Linked DNA regions of Homo sapiens: region 1 is linked to region 2. Evidence: promoter capture Hi-C in 16 types of primary human blood cells and fetal thymus (Javierre and others, 2016). All regions are on one chromosome and are shown on one strand. The core of a region is centred on a gene start or on the middle of the fragment in contact, and the rest is flanking DNA. Distances in the headings are between cores, read along the strand shown.

Region 1 (4,603 bases), core at 971-3,470, 2.0 Mb before region 2:
CCACCACCTCAGCATTCTCCTGCCTCAGCCTCCCGGGTAGCTGGGATTACAGGCGCCCAAGTAGCTGGGATTACAGGCACCCATCACCATGCCCAGCTGATTTTTTGTATTTTTAGTAGAGACAGAGTTTCACTATGTTGGCCAGGCTGGTCTCAAATGCCTGACCTCATGATCCACCCGCCTCAGCCTCCCAAAGTGCTGGGATCACAGGCGTGAGCCACTGTGCTTGGCCAAAATTGCTTTTTACTGTCAGTGTTTCTGTGGTTATCAGTGAATGATCTACAGAAGCACATATAAAAATATTTACCATCAGAAATTGGCACAAAGAAATTTTTCTAGGTATTATCAAGTGCTTTAAAAGGAATGCAAATAATTCTCTTCACTTTCTAATCAAAAAAATTGTATAAGATTCAGCCTTTATTATCCCCAGATTAATGATAAATCTGACACATCTCTTGTTTCTATAAATGTAAGGTCATTAATTTTAATGACTTTATTATTATTTTAAACTTTCTGGGGGATTTTTTTGTTTATTTGTTTCCTCTCAACTGTGTTCTCTTTCATTATTCTTTTCTAAATATTTTCACATTATGAAACTCAAGTTTCTTTTTGGTTGAATTTATTACTGAATTTTAGCATTTAGATACCTTGGTATTAGAACTGCCACAATCAGGACACAGAACAATTCATTCATCATTAATAACTCTATTATGCTATCCCTTCAACCCTGTCCTCTTGCAACCACTTTTCTGATCTCTGTCATTATAATTTTGGCTTTTTGAGAATGTTGAATAATAGGAAAATAAGATATGTAACTTTTGTGACTGACATCTTTTACTCAGCAAAATTCCTTTGAGATACATCCAAAACACTAGGTGTACTAAAACTATTTCTTTTTTAGTGCAGAATAGCATTCTTCTGTATACAAGAGTTTATTTATTCATTTACCTATTGGAGGCAGTTAGGGATATTTACCATGTGAGGAAATTATGAAGAGAACCAGAGTACAGTTAGAGGTGAGCGATTTCTGTTGCCACTAACTTTATACCACTTGTTGATCTAATTGCATGGTTCATAGTAGTATCTGACAGAAAAGGAAGTTATGCATTTACCATTGCTGTTCAAATAATCTGAAAATGTTCATAGACTGATGTAGGCCTGAACAATCTGTCATCTAGAAAAAACCACACAGACATTGAGATAAGGTATGCAATAAGAGGCCAGTCTTTATTGTTAAAAAGGAAGTGTAGTTTCAGCCAAAGTGCAGATTTTACACAAGGTGTTCTGTGCCAGACTAATTGTGTCATTATAGGTTGAAAGGCCCACAGAAATATAACCTGGAAGAATTCCACTCTAAAGATCAAGGATCCACATGTGAGTTTAGTACTGGGGAAAGTGGTATTCTTCAGAATTTCAGGAATCGCTAGAAACTAAGAACACCTGCACCAGTACCCTTGAAGCAAATGGGCAGAGTGATGGGCATGCCAGTGACTAAACAGAACAGATTAATAACCCTTGAGTTTTTGGAAATATTAAGTAAAAGGAATTCTGGAAAGAATGATTCTGAGAAGAAGAGTTTTAAGTAAATAAGTGTGTGTGTTGGGGGTTGACTCAAAGTAAGTGCTATCCAAACATTAAGAGGGAGTTTATTTTACAATCCTCACATTGCTGAGAGGATTCAAAGGGAAACAGGTATGTGTTACACCGCTACAATGAACTCATTTTTGACAAAGGTGCCAAGAACACACACTGGTGAAAAGACAGTCTCTTCAATAAATGGTGCTGAGAATACTGTATATCCACAGGCAAAAGACTGAAAGTACATATAGAAAAATCAAATCAGCATGGATTAAAGACTTAAATCTAAGACCTCAAACTATGGAACTACTACAACACACACACACACACACACACACACACAAAATGGAGAAACTCTCCAGGAAAAATTTTAGTCTTGGCAAAAATTTCCTGAGTAATACCACACAAGCACAGGCAATCAAAGTAAAAATTGACAAATGGGATCACATCAAGTTAAAAAGCTTCTGCACAGCAAAAGAAACAATAAAGGGAAGAGACAACCCACAGAATGGGAGGAAATATTTGCAAACTACCCATTTGATGAGGGATTAATAACCAGAGTATATGAGGAGCTCAAGAAGCTGTATAGGAAAGAAATATCATAATCCAATTTAAAAATGGTAAAATATTTGAATAGCCATTTCTCAAAACAAGATGTGCAAATGAGAAACAGGCATACGAAAATGTGCTCAACATCATTCATCATCAGAGTAGTGTATATCAAACTACAATGTGATACCATCTCACCCAGTTAAAATGGACTCTATACAAAAGACAGGCAATGACAAATGCTGGTGAGAATGTGGAGAAAAAGGAAAGCTTGTACAGTGCTGATGGGAGTGTAAATTAGTACAACAACTATGGAGAACAGTTTGGAAGTTAGTTAAAAAACTAAAAATAAAGCAATGATATGATCCAGGAATTTCACTCCTGGGTATATACTCAAAAGAAAGGAAATCAATATTTTGAAGAGATATTAGCACTCCCAAGTTTGTTGCAGCACTGTTCACAATTGCAAAAATTTGGAAGCAACCTAAGTGTTCACTAACAGATGAATAAAGAAAGAAAGTGTGGTAGATATACACAATACAGTACTGTTCAACCATAAAAAATGAGATTCTGTCGTTTGCAACAACATGGGTGGAACTGGAAGTCATTATGTTAAGTGAAATAAGCCAGACACAGAAAGACAAATATTGCATGTTCTCACTTATTTGGGGAATCTAAAAATCAAAATAATTTAACTCATACAAACAGAGAGTAAAATGATGGTTACCAGATGCTGGTAAGGTTAACTGGAGCAAGGTGGGTTTTGGAAGGTTAACAGGTACAAAAAAAAATAGTTAGAAAGAATGAATGAGACTTAGTATTTGATAGCACAACAAGGTGACTATAATCAAAATGTGTTAATTGTACCTTTTAAAATAATTAAAAGAGTACAGTTGGATTGTTTGTAGCACAAAGGATAAATACTTGAGGGAATGTATATGCCATTTCCCATAATGTGATTATTATGCATTGCGTGCCTGTATAAAAACATATCAGGTACTTTATAAATATATACACCTACAATATACCCATAAAATTAAAAATTAAATCGTAAAACAAATACGTATGTGTTAATATTTATATGCCTTTATGATAGAGACAGGAGGCAGCCAAATGCCCAGGCAGATAGGTGCGGGTACTTGGTGAAACCCCAACTCCAAACCAAAAAACTTTAAAGCCTGAAAACCAAGCTACAAGTTAAATCCTTGGACTGGACTGAGAACTTGTCTTCCTGTTTAGCATTGCTTTTTTCTGATTGACCCCCACCCTTCACCTATTTTAAATATACTTGCCCTTTTCTTATTGGTTTTCTATACTGTCATGCCAATCTTTGAGTAGTGTCTTTGCTTTAACCTTTTCTGCATACTCACAAACCAATCTCCATGCACTCACCATCCTGTGCTTATAAAGATCCCAGACTCAGTTAGTAGAGAAGGAGATGGCCTGACTTCAGGGAAGAGACAACCTGACTTTAGGAAAGACGACCTTCCCTTCCTGTCCCCTCTCCAGCTCCCCTCTCTGCTGAGAGCCATTTCATCACTCAATAAAAGTCTCCACCTTCACCATCCTTTAATCATCCATGTGACCTCATTCTTCTTGGACACAGGGCAAGAGCTCAGAACCCACCAAGTGCTGATACCCAGAAAGGCTGTCACACCAGTCCTTTGCCCTCACCAGCAGAGGGCAGCCAACCCACATGATGAGGCAAGGAGCCAACTCAGCAGCTAATAATACACTGCCATCTGTGGATGCTTGAACTAAAGGAGCACTGTAACACCTGCTCTGGGGCTTCAGGGTTGTGGGCATCCTCACCTGGGCACTGCTATGTTCTCCTCAAGACCACATGGCTGATCAGGCCACAGGCCCCACATGGAGTGTGCTCCTGTGTCAGTGCCTGGAGCAGCTGGCCAGATTCTGCACTTGCTCACTCATGTGCTCCCTCCCACAAAGGGTTGAGCACAGTGGGCTGAATAGTTGGGGCGCTCCTTTCATGATTCCGGCAAAGGGCCCTAGAGAAATCCTGCATCACTTAGGTCCTAGCACTATGACTTATTACCATACATTACACTTTGATTCATCATCAGATAAATAATCTTGTAAAAAAAGAAACCCTCTTGCAATGACAACCAAATAGGTCTAATTCAGATATAACCCAAAAATATACATTAGGCCGGACATGGTGGCTCATGTTTGTAATCTTAGGATTTTAGGAGGCTTAGGTGAGAGGATCTTTTGGGTCCTGGATTTCGAGTTTATAGTGAGGTGTGATTGTGTCAATACACACTAGCCTGGGTCACAGAGTGAGACCCTGTCTCTAAAAATATATAGAGATAGATATTCAGACATATATATTATTGAGCATGAGAGTTCTCCCTGCTGATTTTCCACCATTACATATGGTTATTGTCATCTATTAATGCTTTCAGTTTTCTATTGTTATTTAAGGATAAACTTGAACCATATTAGGAATAAAAGA
Region 2 (4,837 bases), core at 1,858-4,357:
TAAAGCCACTCATAACTACAAATCTTCTTCGATAGTAAACAAGATATAAATAAATATCTAGTTCATTTCCTTCAATTTCCAGGTGAAAGAAAATGACTTGCCCAATGTCATTATTATAAGCTTGATTACTTCTGTTTTAATTAAGTTGTCTTCCCACCACTGACACTGCCTCTGATTTCAGAGTGAGCCAAGGGATATATTAAATTCTTCTTAGCAGGCATACTATCCACCTAAACTGAATATTCAGAGAATTGCCTGCTCTAGTTAGTTCCATCTAATACAAAATTATTTGCATCCAAAGGAAGTAGGCTAACATGAGCATGTACAGGAAGGGTATCTCTATACCCTTCCCCAGAGACTATACTCTGTGGCTGCTTGTCACTAGGTCAGCTAGGTGACCAATGAGAGATGGAAAAGCTGTGTGACAATCTGTGTGCCTGCATGCATGTGTGCAGTGTTCCCAGGTAAGTTTAAAATTTCTCAATTGGCTGTTTATAAAGTTAACATATTTATATCAAATATAATGTGCTTTATCAAGTATTTACATTTTTAAAATTGACTCATCTGCAAGAATCTAGTCTTTAAGTAGCAAATTGCTCTCCTGAAAAATGATGCAGAATGTCCCTTGAGTTTTGACATGAATGAATTACCTACCTTTCTCTCCTTTGTAGCCTCTAGGGCCTTGGGGCCCAACAACTCCTGGTGGCCCTGGGATCCCCAAATTTCCAGCCTCTCCTTTAGGACCTAGAAATGGGATTTTAAATACATCAGAATATAAAATTTCTCTTTTAAAGTTCATTAGTTCAGGAAAGAAAAAAAGCATTTTACTGCAATCAATAAGTATCAATGACCTAATGGTAAAATCTGAGTAAGAATAAACCACACAGAGTCCTAAGGGCAATATTTTTGTCTGATTTGCAATTTCGTACTACCTGAATAGATAAATTGAGACCATTAGTACTTGTCACTGTATTCATGGCAGTGATCAAATGATTCAGGGAAGCAGCACTATATCAAACAAGAACAAAATGATAATCTGACACTTAACCTCATATGGACCACACTTTCACATTGGAAGTAAAAACAACACCTAGCACCTTTGGATTTCCCTTTTATTCACTTACTCATTCATTCATTAACTATTTCTGAGGCATCCTATACACCAAGCACCCTGCAAGGTGTTAGGAATGCAGCCATCAACATTCCAGCAGTCCCTACTCTCATGAAGCTGAGAGTCTATGAAAGATAAACATTTAACAAATAGCCACACAAATACGTAGAAATTGTCACATTGTAGTAAATGATATAAAGAAAAATACGAAGGTCTTATTGAGGACTTAACTGATGAGATCAGAGGCTTCCTTGAGAAAATGGTATTAAGCTAAGACCCAAAGAATAGATTAAGATTTCCCAAAGCAGAGTAGCTTCCCTAAGTAGGACCAAGATAGTCTCAGCATTCTAAGCTCTCAAGCACTATGCTCTGTGGCAGAACCAGTCAGACTAAGACATATGAGCTCCCCAGGCAGGGTAATAACTTGGCACACCTTGGAATTATTTGTCATATATATTTAGAGGAGAGAATGAACCCTGAGAACAGCACAGCTAAATCCACCACTGGGTAAAACAAAAGCCCTGATGTTACAGAACTCACAGCCTTAGCAAATAGTTTAGCAACCAGCTGTGTCTACTTGACCATGCCCTTGGGATTTTCACCGCCAAGCAGCTTACCAGCCAGATAGGATACTAAGACTTCTGGTAAATATAATTTTCTCAGTCTCATTAAATTTTCAGTAATGTTTTAGCAATCCTGACATCTTGGTACCCAAGCTACGGCCCATCTCCTTTACTCCTTAATGCAGCTCTGCATAAATACTAACCGCATTTCCCAAAAGGTCCCTACAAAGGGATGAAATGAATGAAAAGCTTGGTGAAGATGTATAATTGCTTAGTTTATAACATTAAATTCCTCAGGCAATGGTGAATTTTAAGTTGACATTCTGATCTTAACTTTACCTTGAATTCTCTTCTAGATGACATGTAAAAGCTGAAATGTATTAGAATAAAGCCAAGACTATATTCATTATGTATATATTATAGACATCTGAAATCTTGAAATACATAACCATGGTGTTCAATGGAGAAAATCATTGGGCAATGACACAGTATTGCCTCAGAAATTCAATGAGAAGCAAATGGAATCCTAAGCTTTATTCTCCACCTCAGAGCCATTCCATTTCTAATCCTAACTACAAATAGCACTCAGAAAATCCATCAGTCAGCACACATTCTTGCAAGGCAACAGAAGTTTCATTTACCCTTTTTAAATCAGCCACTAATTTAAAAAATTGTACTGGTAATAAACCTGTGCATCTTGAAGAACCAGAGCACCATGCTGGAGTTGGTAATTCCTGACTTTGCTCTCACCAGCACTGTCCAGTAGAATTGTCTACAATGATGGAAATGCTATCTGTGCTGCCCAATACAGTGGCTGTTGAGCACTTGAACTGTGGCTAATGTGACTGATGAACTGAATTTTTTACCTTATTCAATTTTAATTTTAATATTTATTAATTACCACATTGGGCAACACAGCACCCATTTACATTTGTAACAATGTGACACCTAGACCTGTTACTATTTGCATAACAACGTAGAAACTCCTGGGGCAATTTCACCCGACAACCTACCTCTCAACTCTACCAATGTACAAGTGAGAAACATGACTTCTTATATTTTCTAATACCTGGCTGTCCAGTCTCTCCAGGTTCTCCTTTCTGCCCGGGTACAGGTGAACAACAATCACAACAATTCAAAAAGAAATCAGCTGGGTCAAGAGTGAAGTTTTCAAAGGGAGAGAGAGTGGCAGTGCCAAAGACAGAATCCAAGGCCGAGGGTTTGGTAATTGGTTCTGCCATTTCAGCCATTTCTGTGAAGAGGGTTTCTTCTTCTTCTGGAGGTGGGCCACTGGATGGCTTTAGACCCTTTGGCATCTCTCTTTCCTCAGATTTCTTCGTAAATTTGGTATGTGGTGTGGTCTTTGCTATTGTGTTCATACCAGCAATAGCCAAAATAATTAAAATAGCACAAAGCCAAGAAAACATCCACATATTTGAAGCTGGAAGAAAGATATAATAGGAAAATATATACATATTATGTGAGGTCCAAATGAAAAGACTAAGTCATATAAACATATACTCATATAAAAGAAATATATATGTATATGAATCATAAGAATGAATGATATGCATAATATAGAATGATATATTTTCAATATATTTTACATGTAAATGTGTACTTGAATCACTACAGAATATTTTATGTACTTATTTATTATAAAGAACACTTTACTTCCATTCATCTTTCTGGTTATTTTCTTAGTATTATATATTGTTCCCAACTATTCAAACTATCTGGCCAAATAGCAAACATGATCTACAATAAATACAACATGACTCAATAGCTCATATACCCTGTGGAAGATAAATGTGTATAATTTCCTCACTGATTTCACTCAGATTTATAGAAATCAAATACATTTGTATTAGAGGGAGATGAAAAATATTGAACTGAGTAGTTTATTCCAGCAAACTCAATTATTTCAAGAAAAAATATGGTGAAATAGTCCTTAAATCTACTAAGGATAATGGTCCTGTTGTGAGAGCAATTTTTTAAAATCTATTTTAATAAGTGAAGAGAGAGACAATTAAAAATAATAAATTTGAATATATGCTACATTCTTAGATTCTTCACATGGCATTTAACTCTCCACCTCTTTGCTTTGTAATTTGGGGAGTTTTTCTAGAAATTCATGTTTATTCTTGTATTATTTTAATGGGGCAAAATGTGGTTATTCTAAAAAGAGCTTTGGCAATGTCCAAAGTGATATGATGTAAGGTTTCTAATGAGGTGAAATTTTGATAGTTCAGAGTATTCCATTCCAAATCAACTCCCAGTAGTCTAAGGGGTGCTAACAGATAGCCAGGGTTATAAATCCACATTTCCTGATAGGAGAAGGCAGCCATAATTAAGATAAATAGTAAGAGAGTAAATAGAATGGAAATAAAGAGATTAAAAAGGTCTACTGTTTATACAGTCCCTACTCTGAGTAGATGCCGTACATTAATCAATCCAATCAGGTCTCACAACAGCTCTCCATTCCCCCTTGAGAACTGGAACATGACGATGATGCTCTCTCTCACCACTCCTATTCAACATAGTACTGAAAGTGCTAGCCAGAGCAATCAGACAAGAGAAAGAAATAAATGGCATTCAAATAGGAAAAGAAGAAGTCAAACTCTCTCTCTTTGCAGAAAATATTATTCTATACCTAGAAAACCCTAAAGACTGCCAAAATTCTCCTGGGACTGATAAATAATTTCAGCAAAGTTTCAGGAAAGAAGGTCAATGTACAAAAACGAGTAGAATTTCTGTACACCAATAACATTCAAGCTGGGAGTCAAATCAAGATTGTAATTCCATTTACAATGGCCACGAAAAAAAATACCTAAGAGTACATCTAAGGAAGGAAGTAAGAGATCTGGAGAACTACAAGAAGAACTACAAAACACTGCTGAAAGAAGTCAGACATGACACAAATAAATGAAAAAACATTCCATGCTCATGGATTAGAAGAATCAATATTGTTAAAGTGGTCATACTGCCCAAAGCAATTGATAGATGCAACACTATTCCTTTCAATCTATCAATGTCACTTTTCATATGACTAGAAAAAACTACTCTAAAATTCATGTGGGTCCAGAAAAAGAGCCCTAATAGCCAAAGCAATCCTAAGCAAAAAGAACAAAGCCAAAGGCATCACATTACCTGATTTCAAACT

The links. Contacts are between HindIII fragments. The CHiCAGO score rates a contact against its expected background, and 5 or more counts as called.
Region 1: a fragment that was not itself captured here is called in contact with the fragment with the promoter of OTOL1 in region 2 in 2 of 17 cell types (M0 macrophages and M2 macrophages); the score reaches 6.1 in M0 macrophages.

Annotation. Positions count from the first base shown.
Region 1 is chr3:163,489,626-163,494,228 of GRCh38, reverse strand. No RefSeq gene overlaps it. Among named protein-coding and RNA genes, the nearest start is that of LINC01192, 190 kb to the right of the region's middle. The HindIII fragment of the contact is 358 bases long and covers 2,042-2,399 here.
Region 2 is chr3:161,495,078-161,499,914 of GRCh38, reverse strand. OTOL1 (otolin 1) reads right to left here and starts at 3,107. Exons shown (of 4, transcript NM_001080440.1): 1 at 2,744-3,107; 2 at 655-744. The coding sequence starts at 3,107. The HindIII fragment of the contact is 10,143 bases long and covers 2,208-4,837 here.